3 separate regions of the Homo sapiens genome follow, and all the other regions are linked to region 2. The links are contacts of gene promoters, found by promoter capture Hi-C in blood cells and fetal thymus (Javierre and others, 2016). All regions are on one chromosome and are shown on one strand. Each heading gives the region's core, a stretch centred on a gene start or on the middle of the fragment in contact. The rest is flanking DNA. Distances are from core to core; before and after follow the strand shown. Region 1 overlaps RAD51AP1 (RAD51 associated protein 1). Region 2 holds the start of FKBP4 (FKBP prolyl isomerase 4). Region 3 overlaps AKAP3 (A-kinase anchoring protein 3).

Evidence for each region. The method cuts DNA at HindIII sites, captures the fragments that hold promoters and counts their contacts. A CHiCAGO score of 5 or more calls a contact.
Region 1: a contact is called between a fragment that was not itself captured here and the fragment with the promoter of FKBP4 in region 2, in 1 of 17 cell types (neutrophils). The highest score is 5.9, in neutrophils.
Region 3: a fragment that was not itself captured here is called in contact with the fragment with the promoter of FKBP4 in region 2 in 1 of 17 cell types (naive CD4 T cells); the score reaches 5.7 in naive CD4 T cells.

Annotation. Positions count from the first base shown.
Region 1 is chr12:4,542,967-4,546,811 of GRCh38, forward strand. It overlaps RAD51AP1 (RAD51 associated protein 1), which reads left to right. Exons shown (of 9, transcript NM_006479.5): 3 at 797-938; 4 at 3,343-3,452. Among named protein-coding and RNA genes, the nearest start is that of RAD51AP1, 6.0 kb to the left of the region's middle. The HindIII fragment of the contact is 4,691 bases long and covers 1-3,666 here.
Region 2 is chr12:2,792,391-2,796,498 of GRCh38, forward strand. FKBP4 (FKBP prolyl isomerase 4) reads left to right here and starts at 2,580. Exons shown (of 10, transcript NM_002014.4): 1 at 2,580-2,854. The coding sequence starts at 2,750. The region is part of intron 2 of ITFG2-AS1 (ITFG2 antisense RNA 1); the gene reads right to left. RefSeq lists enhancers at 1,459-2,004, 2,005-2,549, 4,043-4,108 and silencers at 2,399-2,778, 2,809-2,868, 3,219-3,628. The HindIII fragment of the contact is 2,886 bases long and covers 1,174-4,059 here.
Region 3 is chr12:4,642,081-4,645,679 of GRCh38, forward strand. It overlaps AKAP3 (A-kinase anchoring protein 3), which reads right to left. Exons shown (of 6, transcript NM_001278309.2): 2 at 2,975-3,112. Among named protein-coding and RNA genes, the nearest start is that of AKAP3, 5.2 kb to the right of the region's middle. The HindIII fragment of the contact is 278 bases long and covers 2,074-2,351 here.

The DNA.
Region 1 (3,845 bases), core at 71-2,570, 1.7 Mb after region 2:
TTGTAAAAATCCTCAAATAGGAGCTACTTTCTCTTCCCCCCATAATGCTTATTTCCTCTAGCATGGTTAATGTACTAGGAATAGGTAATGGGCTTTTTTTTCTCTTTTTTTTGAGACGGAGTCTCACTCTTGCACCTAGGCTAGAGTGCAACAGCGCGATCTTGGCTCACTGCAACCTCTGCCTCCCAGGTTCAAGCGATTCTCCCACCTCACCTCCTGAGTAGCTGGGATTATAGGTGTCCGCCACCATGCCTGGCTAATTTTTGTATTTTTTAGTAGAGACAGGGTTTCACCACTTTGGCCAGGCTGGTCTTGAACTCGTGACTTCAGGTGATCTGCCCGCCTTGGCCTCCCAAAGTGCTGGGATTACAAGTGTGAGCCACTGTGCCTGGCCCAAGTAATGGGCTTTGAAAAAAGATATTTGGCTACATTGTGAAGTTCCCATAAAAATAATTTATTTCCACTTTTCAATGTGATTAAATTCTACCAATTTTTCTAATGGTTTTACAGGTTTTTAATCATTTTTTCTTTGACACTTATATGCTGTCTTAATTGCTTTTGCAGTTTTTAGTGAATTGGTTTTTGATAGACTGATATTTTTAAATATAAAGGGCACAAAAACAAAAGTCGAAATAGATAAATGAGAGTAAAGATAAACAAAATACTAACAATGATTTTTAAATTGTGGAAATTAAACAATTTGCCTAGCCTATAAAAACTTGAACACACATGGTAATGATTTTCATTTATGAAGAAAATAATATTTTTCTTTTGGTTTTAATTCACACATGAATAGATGATTTTGTTTCTGCAACTGTACCTTTAAACAAGAAATCCAGAACAGCACCAAAGGAGTTAAAACAAGATAAACCAAAACCTAACTTGAACAATCTCCGGAAAGAAGAAATCCCAGTACAAGAGAAAACCCCTAAAAAAAGGTGAGAGGTAAGACATGCAGTAAATATATGACATTAGATGTGTTAATTTTAAAGAGACACAGATTCGAACCCTTGATTTAAATTAGAACTTGGGCAGAGTCATAGGTCTTATTTTACTAGGTGCAGTCAGAAAACAGGACGTACTATTTTTTTCTGGCTTTCTGACTTAAAGAAATTCACAAACATTCAAGGAAGTATCATTAAATATTAAGACAATAATGATTGTAGAATTCAGAAGTTATGACTGGTTTTGACAGGACCCAGCACTTATCTCTGAATTCCTCAAATCATACGAGACTACTTTGTTAAAAATGACATTAGATGACTTAAGATGATTAAGACACAAGATGACTTAATATGAGGACAGTTTTTAAAATATAAAACCATGTATTTTCTTGCAGAAAAAGATGTCTTCTCCCCATGTTGTTAAGATTTATCCAGCAGTGAGAAGTTCCCATAGTTTCTAGACTAACCGTGGAATTCCATTAGATAGTATCAAGAGGCAGAAAGGAGTGAAGGAAGTCCTTAGAGACCCAAAACTTGCAGTATGGAGAAGAGATGGGCGGAAGGGGAATATTAACAAATGGAACATGGCATATATAATGTTTTACTGCCACAAGTTTCTCTATGAAAAGTGAGTTAGCCTGGAGAAACTTACCTCATGTCATGCTCTTTTTTGCTTTTCTTTTTTTTGGTTTTTGTTTGTGAGTTTCTTGTATTACATTTTAAATATATAGAAAAAGGAACCCACACGTGGGAGAAAATATTTGTAAATCAGATAACTGATAAGGGACTGTATCCAGAGTATACACAGAACTCGTAAAACTCAACAGTAAAAAGACTAACAACACAATTTAAAATGTGCAAAAGATTTCAATAGACTTTCTCCAGAGAAGATAAACAAATAACCAATAAACACATGAAAAGATGCTCAATATCATTAGCTGTGAGGGCAATGCAAATCAAAATCAGAATGAGATAATACTTCACACCCACTAGATGACTTAATACAAAAGACAAGGAATGTGGAGAAATTTGAACCCTCATATATTGCTGGTGGGAAAGTAAAATGGTGCAGCTAAATTGGAAAATGGTTTAGCAGTTCCTCAAAATGTTAAACAGAGTTATTACATGACCCAGCCTATGTATGTATCCAAGAGAAATGAAAACATATGCCCACACAAAAACCCATACATGAATGTTCACAGCAACATTATTCATAATAGCTAAAAAAAAATGGAGGCAATCTAAATGTCTATCTGCTAATGAATGGATAAGTAAAATGTGGTTTCCACAAAATGGAATATTTTTCAGCCATAGAAAGAAATGACAACTGATAACTGATATATACTGCAATATGGATGAACCTTGGAAACATCATTCTGAGTGAAAGAAGCCAGATATACAGGTCACATATTACATGATTTCATTTGCATGAAATGTCCAGAATAGGCAAATCCATAGAAACGGAAAGCAGATTAATGGTTGCTAGGAGGGGAGAGGGGTAAACAGGAAGTGAATGCTAATGGGTATGGGGTTTCTTTTTGGGGTAATAAAGATGTTCTGAAATTAGGTAGTGTTGGTGGTTTTACAGCTCTGTGAATGTACTAAAAACTGCTGAATTGTTTACTTTAAAAGGTAAACTTTATGATATGTGAATTATATCTTAAGAAAACTGTTATTCTAAAAAAATAAATTCTTTAAGGTACATCTCAGTGCTTCTTCCTTTATGTAACTTTTCCTTATCTGTCTTTGACGTTTTCTTCCTCTTATACTCCATAGCACTTTTGAGCAGCTTGAATAGGACTTTATAGTCTGCCTTTTATAGGATAATTATTAGCATGTCTTGTTTCCCCACCCTCCTCCTTTAATTGCAGACTCCCTGAAGGTACTTTTAGTATTCCAGCTAGTGCAGTGCCTTGTACAAAGTAAGTGCTTGGTAAAATATTTGTTAAAGTCTGGATTGGGAGGAAGAGATGTAAAAAAATGATAATAATTTTAATTTAATGTAAGAGCTATAAAATCTGCTAAAGGGGAGTGGGTGAGGTCAAGGAAGAGTTTTAAGTGGAAGTGATGTTTGAACCAAGTCTGTTTTGGGTTGAGTAGGGTGTTTCCCACCTGGACACAGCTGGTAGTAAGGTGACACATTACAATGAAAGGGAACAGTCATTGCAAAGAGGCACATGGTCCTCCTATTTCAAACCTCTTATTCTGTATGTAACATGATACTGTGACATTTTAGGAGTCTTATCTTATCATCAAAGGTCTATTAATGATGATTGTTTAAAAACATTTTTGCGAAGTTAGCAACTCTTGAATAGTAATTTGGAGAAATCTCAAACTTTGCTCTTTAGTTGAGATTGATATTTTGAAGAACTCATTATTACTTGTGTATCTATTTTAGGATGGCTTTAGATGACAAGCTCTACCAGAGAGACTTAGAAGTTGCACTAGCTTTATCAGTGAAGGAACTTCCAACAGTCACCACTAATGTGCAGAACTCTCAAGATAAAAGTAACTTTATTTTCTGTATATTTAGCTTTAAAACCTTCTTAATGCTTTTGTGATTATTTGTTTGGGTGGGCCTTCACAGAGGAAACAGGTAAAATGTGAATACTTTGCACTATAAATAGACCCATTTGCAGAGAATACGATTGGATTTAGTTCTTAATTCAGCTGCCTAAATCTCATACAAACAGACATACATCTCTGCTTAACACCCAGAATAAGCTTGAGGGCACGGACTGTGAGCCTCAGTGTTCGAATTATATGTTGTTGTACAGTGAACATTTAATTTCTTCATCAAATGATTTGATCTGTACAGTCCTAACAATCCATCTCCATTTTTTCCAGATCAGTTAAACATACCCTAATTATGGTAATTTTTATTACTTACAAAGGTCAAAG
Region 2 (4,108 bases), core at 1,330-3,829:
AGCAGGAGTCACCTACAGATAAGGTGGATGAGAAAAAGTGTGCTGACTTCCTCCCGCAAAAAAAGGGGACATTTTGGAAGAATTTCGAGTGGTACCGGTTACACATCTTTAATGAGAATACTAACTTAAATGGCCTGGGGAAAGGGTGAGGAGATAGAGGAAAGAGACTAAAACACGTGCACACTTTCTACAGTATATGTACTTTTTATGATCAGAAAAATATCACATAAACGACCAGGAAATATTCTAAGAGAAACAGTAAGTTCCTGCTCCAGGATTCAAGACCCCTAGTTTCCTCCTGTGGTTTCTCCTAGTTTCTGCCTGTGGTCCCCTAGTTTCCTCCTTCACTGTGTGGGGACAGAGCTTCTCACCGGGAACCTTGCCCTCTTGCCCTTCCCTGTCTCACAGACCTCTGTTTTCTTAGCCCTTTGTCCCCATCTCCACTGCAGCGCCTATCAGATCACACTAAAACGACCGTTATTTACCAGCTGCGGAGTTGGAGGCGAGGACTGAGCTAGATACCATACACAGATTCCCGCTTTTTTAACCATTAAATCACCCTCTTTTACAAATGTTACTATCTCTATTTTACAGACAAGAAATCGAGACATGAAGATTAACTAACCTGCCCCAATTTAAACAGCTAACATAACACATGGGCCGCCCAACGTCCCTTACTCCAAAGCACATGCTCATTCCACTAGGGTATTAGGCTATGTGTTAATGTAACGGCAGGCAATCTGAAGGGCTCCACTATGTACGTGCCGAACAGAATTAAAGGGGGGGTCCCACACTGTCCGCTTCCGATGAAGAAAAAGACGCAGAAAAGAAACCGCCACACGTGGAGAATCAGTAGGTGCAAGCCAAGGACAGTTTGCGGTAAACTGCCACCCCGGAAGCCAGCACCCACCATCCTGGTCTCCCGGAGTTTGGGTGACCCCTGGCACTGTTACTTCTGCATAAAAGTAGTGGATTTAACCCCTACAGAGGCAGCGCCCCGTATCCTCTGAAGCTGTCTCCAGCCACCTAAAGAGACGTCTTCATTATGGCTCAACTCATTTGGGCTGTAAATTGCTGAAGCGAAGGGCTTTTTCTTCTGCATCCCTTTCAAGTTCCGTCGGCAGGGACTACAATAAATCATCACATTATGACGCTGAAAGTTCATCTCTAAAAAGCTTTCAATTTAGTTTGATGAGACTAATGGCGTCCAATCGCACAGTGCCGGGCACATAACGGGAAGTCCAAAAATACAGTTATTATTGGAATAAAAATTCAGGCTGGGCGCAGTGGCTCACGCCTGTAATCCGAGAACTTTGGGAGGCCGAGGCGGGCGGATCATTTGAGACCAGATGTTCGAGACCAGCCTGGGCAACATGGCGAAACCCCGTCTCTACTAAAAATACAAAAATTAGTCGGCGTGGTGGCGGACGCCTGTAGTCCCGGCTACAGAGAGCCAAGATCGCACCACCGCACTGCAGCCTGGGCGACAGAGCAAGACCCTGTCTCAAAAAAAAAAAAAAAAGAAAAAAAAATCAGCCAAGACTTGGAAAAAGAAATTTAAAAAAGGAAAATTCATGCAGCCAGTAACTATTGGGACATCACTCACCAGGCACTATGCTAAACTGGGGTTAGGTGCTGAGCAAAACCAGGCCCCTCTCTAGATGGCTCTCTAGGTCCCACGACCATAGCTTAGGTGACACCGGCACCTGCGCGCTCCACAGCCTGTCGAAAAACACTCGGGAAGCAAACATTGAGAAGAAAATACTCCTTCTGTGGGCCTTTAGGAAAACCGAGTGACTTTTTTCGTGAGGGGAACCCATCTTTGTAAGCATTCGCGGAAACGGCAGTTTTATTACCGCCGGGAAGGGTCCCCTGAGTGTGTGCCCCATCTGAGTTCCGAGCTGGGCGGGCCATGCCTTGCCAACCCCGCTGCTCGCAGCATCTGCAGGCGCTGAGCGAGGCATCGCTGCCTGGCCGGGGCTTCTCGGATCTGGGGAAATCGAGGTCGCTTTCCCCGGCTCTCTGCAGCGGGGCAGCGCTGTCCACTCACTCCCCGCTCCCCGCGCACGCCCTTGCCCTCTTTCCCCCAAGTAGGGAAGGGTCTACGCGGGTCATAGCAGAGAGGCCACGCCGCCCGTGGTGACGGCCGGTCCCGGGGAGGGGGCGCCGCCACTGCCATCCCGCAGCCTGCGCTCCCCACACCCCGCCGCAGGCGCAGCGGACTGGTGGAGTGATGTCGGGAGATCGATCGAGAAGAATCTGGAAGAATCCGGTTAGACAGGGAAGCGGGCGGGGATGGGAGGGAGGGAGGAAGGGCCAAGGGAGGCCGCCGGGGAGATCCCGAGTCCGAGGGTCCCAGGAGAAGGGGGAGGGGGCAGGCAGCCAGAAGGAGGCAAGAACCAAAAAAAAAAAAAGAAAAAAAAATTCCGAAGCGCCCGCAGCACTGAGCCCGAACCGGCTCAGTCCCGCCGTCTCTAGAAAGTTCTGCACCCCGCCCCCTCTGTCTGCGCTCCCGCTCCTCCCAGCCCCTCCCTCGCGGCGGGGCGGGACCAATCGCTCCCCGAGCCGCTCCTGACCCACCTACCCCAGCTCTCGCGCCGCGTGCAGAGGTGCTCAAGCCTCCTCGCGGTCCGCAGTCAGTGCCGCCGCGCCCGGCCTCCCGCACGCCCCGCAGGTAGCGCCCCCGCCCGCGGCCCAGAGTGCGCTCGCGCCGGCACCAGCTCCCGGATAAACGGCGCGCCGCGCGGAGATGACAGCCGAGGAGATGAAGGCGACCGAGAGCGGGGCGCAGTCGGCGCCGCTGCCCATGGAGGGAGTGGACATCAGCCCCAAACAGGACGAAGGCGTGCTGAAGGTGAGGGGCGGCGGGGCCTGCGGAGGCGTCGGAACCCGGGGCCCCGCGGGCCGCCCTTCCGCCGCGCCCGGAGCCCGCGGCCGGGCACGGGTCGAGGCGGCCGCCTTTGCAGCCTCGCGGCCGTCCCGCCGGGGGCCGGTGGCATCGCCGTCCCGGACCGGGCTGCGTCGTTTAAGGCACCGAGGCCGGCCATGCGCTCGGCAGGGGGGCGGCCTAGGTGCGCGGGCCGAGGCCCCAGGCTCCCCAGCCGGCAGCGCCCGGGCCCGGGCAGGGGGTCGGGATTGCAGTGCCCACCCCGGCGCGCGCGGGGCGGCGGAGAGGGGCGGGGCGAGGCGACCGCCGCGGGCACCCGAGCCGCAGCCCGGGGCCAGGCCGGGCCTCCCACGCCACGCCGCCCCCGACCTCGCGGCCCCAGCGGAGCTGCCAGCCGCGGGCCGCCTCGTTGGTGGCGGTGCCAGGGCTCGCCCACCCGGGCGGTGGAACACGGGCCAGGACGGGGAGCGACTCCCCACAGTGCTTTCCTGGCCCTTCGGCCTTTGTGCGACGCAGGCGCGACAGGGTTCCGGCGCCCTCCCGGGGTCCCCTGCCGACGCCGGGACCCAGCGAGGTCCCCACTCGCCGCGCGGCGCCCCCTCCCTCGGCCCCGGGGAGGCCGGGCGCGGGGCATGCCGGGAGCTGTAGTCCCCTCCCCCCTCCGCCGCCTCCCGGAGCCAGGGCTGCGGGGTGTGGGGCGGGGAGGAGGCGCTCTGCTGTGGAGCCTGCCGCCGAGTGACCGCTCGACTACAAATAGCCTGGGGAGCTGCGGGGAGGGCATCTTGACCTGGGCCAGGACAACCTGCCTTGGGTCGGAGCAGGTTCCAGGGAGAATCAGAGATGGTGAATTCCCAGCCTGCGTCTTATGCCTTCTCCCCATCCGCTGCTGCGTCCTCATCCTGGCTTCCCACCGCTGAGCTCCGCGTGTGCGGCACCCACCTCAGGGGGCCTTTACCTGGTCCAGAAGTGCATCTGTCTTTGCACCAGATTATTGGGGACCTCAAGCGTCTGCTCCAGCGGCTCTCCTGTGGCATGTGACTTCCCCTTCTCGCTCCAGCGTCCTGCCGTTTTCTACGAGATTGTTATTCCAGGAAAGCTCATTTCCCCTTTGATCCATCATTCCTTCCCTTTTACCTTTCTACTCCTCAAAGCCCCTGTCTATTCTTCGTGGAAGCTTTCCCTTGGAGGGTAACCACACACCTACCAGGTGGCGCTAAAGAA
Region 3 (3,599 bases), core at 963-3,462, 1.8 Mb after region 2:
TTGACTTATTATTTTTCACATGTGCATTTAAGTAATGAGCTCAAAATGACATTCAAATTTCATGAGCACACATCTTATTCTTGATGCAGTCTAGCAGTTCCAAGATGACAAAAAGGTTGCACTTTTGGGCCAATGATTTCTTAAATGACTATTGTTATTCCTCACTTTCAAATCATTGCTATACAGTCTTTTTAAACAACGAAGACCCTAAAAATTTTTAGCTTAATTTTAAATTTGCTTGAATAGGAAGTTGGAAGAAAAATAGCTGGAATGAAGAATAAGCACCCTGAATTTATGGAACTCAAAACACTTTGCAAGCATCTTTGAGGACTTGAGAGAAATACACACCCTCAAGTTATAAAGGGAGTTCATAGATATCTTCCAGATTAATTAACTTCCTTGTTTTAGTTCTACTAAGACATTTCAGTGGAAGACATTAGGGCACTGTACTCTCTTCTTGAATATCCACCCAGCCCCCCAGTAATGGCTCTCTAAATTCTACCCTTACTTTTTAGCCCAGGTCAAGGGCTACCCCATCCATGAAATATTTTCTAGATACCTAATGAATGTGATTGCTCCCTCATTGAAGTTTCCATCATATTTTGTTTCAATGTGTACATTCTATCTAGTAGTTTAATTGCTCCCATGTATTTCATTTTCTTTACTGGATGACTTCATAAGGGGAGAGGCATTTTCCTATTCATCTTGGTATGCCTTATAGTAGCTAGTATCTTAAAATTGGAGCTCAATAATTATCTGCTGGAAGAATGAATATGCACCACCTGCCCATTTTCAGATAGTTCATTTTTCCTTTTGGATTGGAGAATCCAAGGACAAAAAAACAGACGGCTTGCTCAAATTTACTATGGCGGTTACTATGGCGGTAATCCATATATTCAAGACGCCTTGAAGCTTGACTCCTTTGGGAGATACGTTCACCGCACAGACTTACTCAGTGATTTACTAACAGACCTTCCTATTCCACTAGTACAAATAAATCAACATCTTAAAAGTGCTTTTGTATTTTTTTCATGAAAGCATAACTACTAGTCAAATATATTCAGCAAACACTTCACTTAAATATATTCTAATGTTTTAATTCTATTTTCTAGGTCCTATGAGTGGGTTTAGCTGCATCATGAAGCTTGTTTTGGACTTTTAAAACTTCCTGTCTGTCCTAGATGACAGCATCTATAAAGAGGTACTTTAAAACTTATTAATGATAATGACATTCAGATTTCTAAATCAATGTTTCTCATAATAAAAGTGGAAAAGAAGGAAGATCTAAAGAGTTTAATGAAGTCAGTGAATGGATTCATAAATTGCTATAAGTTTAAAAGCTGGTAAATAATATCCTGGAGTTAGGGTAGAAAAAAAAAAGAGAAAATGATACTTTGTGTTATCTATTAAAGATAAATGGACCTCAGAAACCATGTTTTCTAATACTCTCAGCTTATAGATTAGGATATTGAGGCTCAGAAAGGAAATACTAGAATCAGCAGATATATTCCTTTAGATATTCCAGCCCTGATAACATTCTGGCAGCTGTGAAATTTTCCCATGGCAAGTAGAAGGATTGGACTAAAATGTTTCTCAAAAATGTCAATGTGATGATTACTTCAAGTTGAGGAGGAGTGCAAACCTGAATGCCAGTCATGAAAGGCATAAGCAACATAGGGGCTTGGTTATGGTCGTTATATCCTAGACCATAGCTCTATCTCAAGGCAGTTTTCTCCTGTATCCATTTTAAGTGAGAGGCTCCTGTTTACCCAAGGTTCCTAAACTCATGTAAAAACTCAGATTGCAGAAGCGAAAGCATAAGCAAAGTTCTTGCAGGGTTGCTAAGTACTTGATCGAGTTTTGAGGTTCATTCAACCAGGTTTTATTACTAGTTTTGAGAGGGAACAGTATGTTTCTCATATCCGTTTTCTTTTACTGCCTTCCTTTCTGTAAGTGCCTGCTACATCGTAGAAGCTCAATAAACTTGGTTGCTGATTAAATAAGAATTTCAATCGATTTTCTTTAAATAAAGATTTGTGTGTGTGTGTGTCTCAATGGCACCATTCATTGTTAAGCTTTCCGGTGGAAAGTCTTTATTTTTACCTTCCCTAAGTAAGAGCTTCTTCTTCTAGTCCCTGTTAGTATAGATACTTTCACCACATAGCTATAGATATCCTGCCCTTTCCCAGTTCTGTTGTCTAACCAAGACTTCAGAAATAACAGTGAGAAGATAAAAGTGTATGAGAATTGGACTCGGGGTTATACCAGTTCTATTTTGCTCTTGGGGCACTGGAAAGAAAATAAATTTAGGAATGGCCACACAATGACTAGGAAAAGTCAGTAGGTAGTCAAGCTTCTACTCTATCAAATGGGGAAGCAGGAAGTAAGGCCCCTCATGTCTCCAAAAGGATAGCTGAGGAGATCTTGTCAAATCTGTAACCAAATCACAATGTCAGCAGCAAAGATGGTAGGTTTGACTTTAAAGCTGCTGAAGGAGAGGTTCACTTATTTCCAGAGGACTCACAGGTAAAATTAAAATTGGCTGAGCAGGCCAGGCATGGCGACTCACACCTGTAATCCCATTACTTTGGGAGGCCGAAGTGGAGGGGATCACTTGAGGTCAGGAGTTTGAGACCAGCCTGGCCAACATGGCGAAAACCTGTCTCTACTAGAAATACAAAAAATTAGCCAGGTGAGATGGTGGATGCCTGTAATCTCAGCTACTCGGGAGTCTGAGGCAGAGGAATCACTTGAATCCAGGAGGTGGAGGTTGCAGTGAGCCGAGATTGCAGCACTGCACTCCAGTTGGGCAACAGAGTGAGACTCCATCTCAAACAAAAAAAAAATCAGCTGGACAGAAGAACAACGCTAGGTTGAACATAACAATTTTCCTATCACTTGTCATTGAATTCTCCCTTCCAACCACAGAGGATCAGAAAATGGGCTGTTTTATCAGTCCAGTAAGATTACCTACCTCTGTAGTACTGGAATAGTGAACCACGGAAGACTCCAGAATATACTTTTAAAGTCAATGAAGATGCTGGGATGTTCTTGCTCAGCTCAAGATCTTGTTTCTTCCTGTGGCCTTCCATGTACCTCCCCCTTGCTGGGACTGGAGAGTGACATCAGAATCACAATTGGTGATATCACTGTCTCTATAGCAACAGTAGTGAGGCTACCAGAAAATGAATGGTCAACAGGACAAAGAGGAGGGGTGAAGATATACTCCAAGGGGCTGATGTTTAGTTTAGAAGGACTGGGCTTTATTCTGATTAATTCTCTCTTTAGAGCAGTGGTCCCCAAACTTTTTCACACCAGGGACCAGTTTTGTGAAAGACAATTTTTCCACGGATGGGAGTGGGGTGGGAGTATGGTTTCTGGATGATTCAAGCACATTACATTTGTTGTGCACTCTATTTCTACTATTATGCCATAATATAGAATCAGTGGGAGTCCTGTCTTCCTGCAACTAGATGGTCTCATCTGGGGATGGTGGGAGACAGCGACAGATCATCAGGCACTAGATTCTCATAAGGAGTGCACAACGTACACTTTCCACAATAGGGTTCAAGCTCCTATGAGAATCTAATGCCACCACT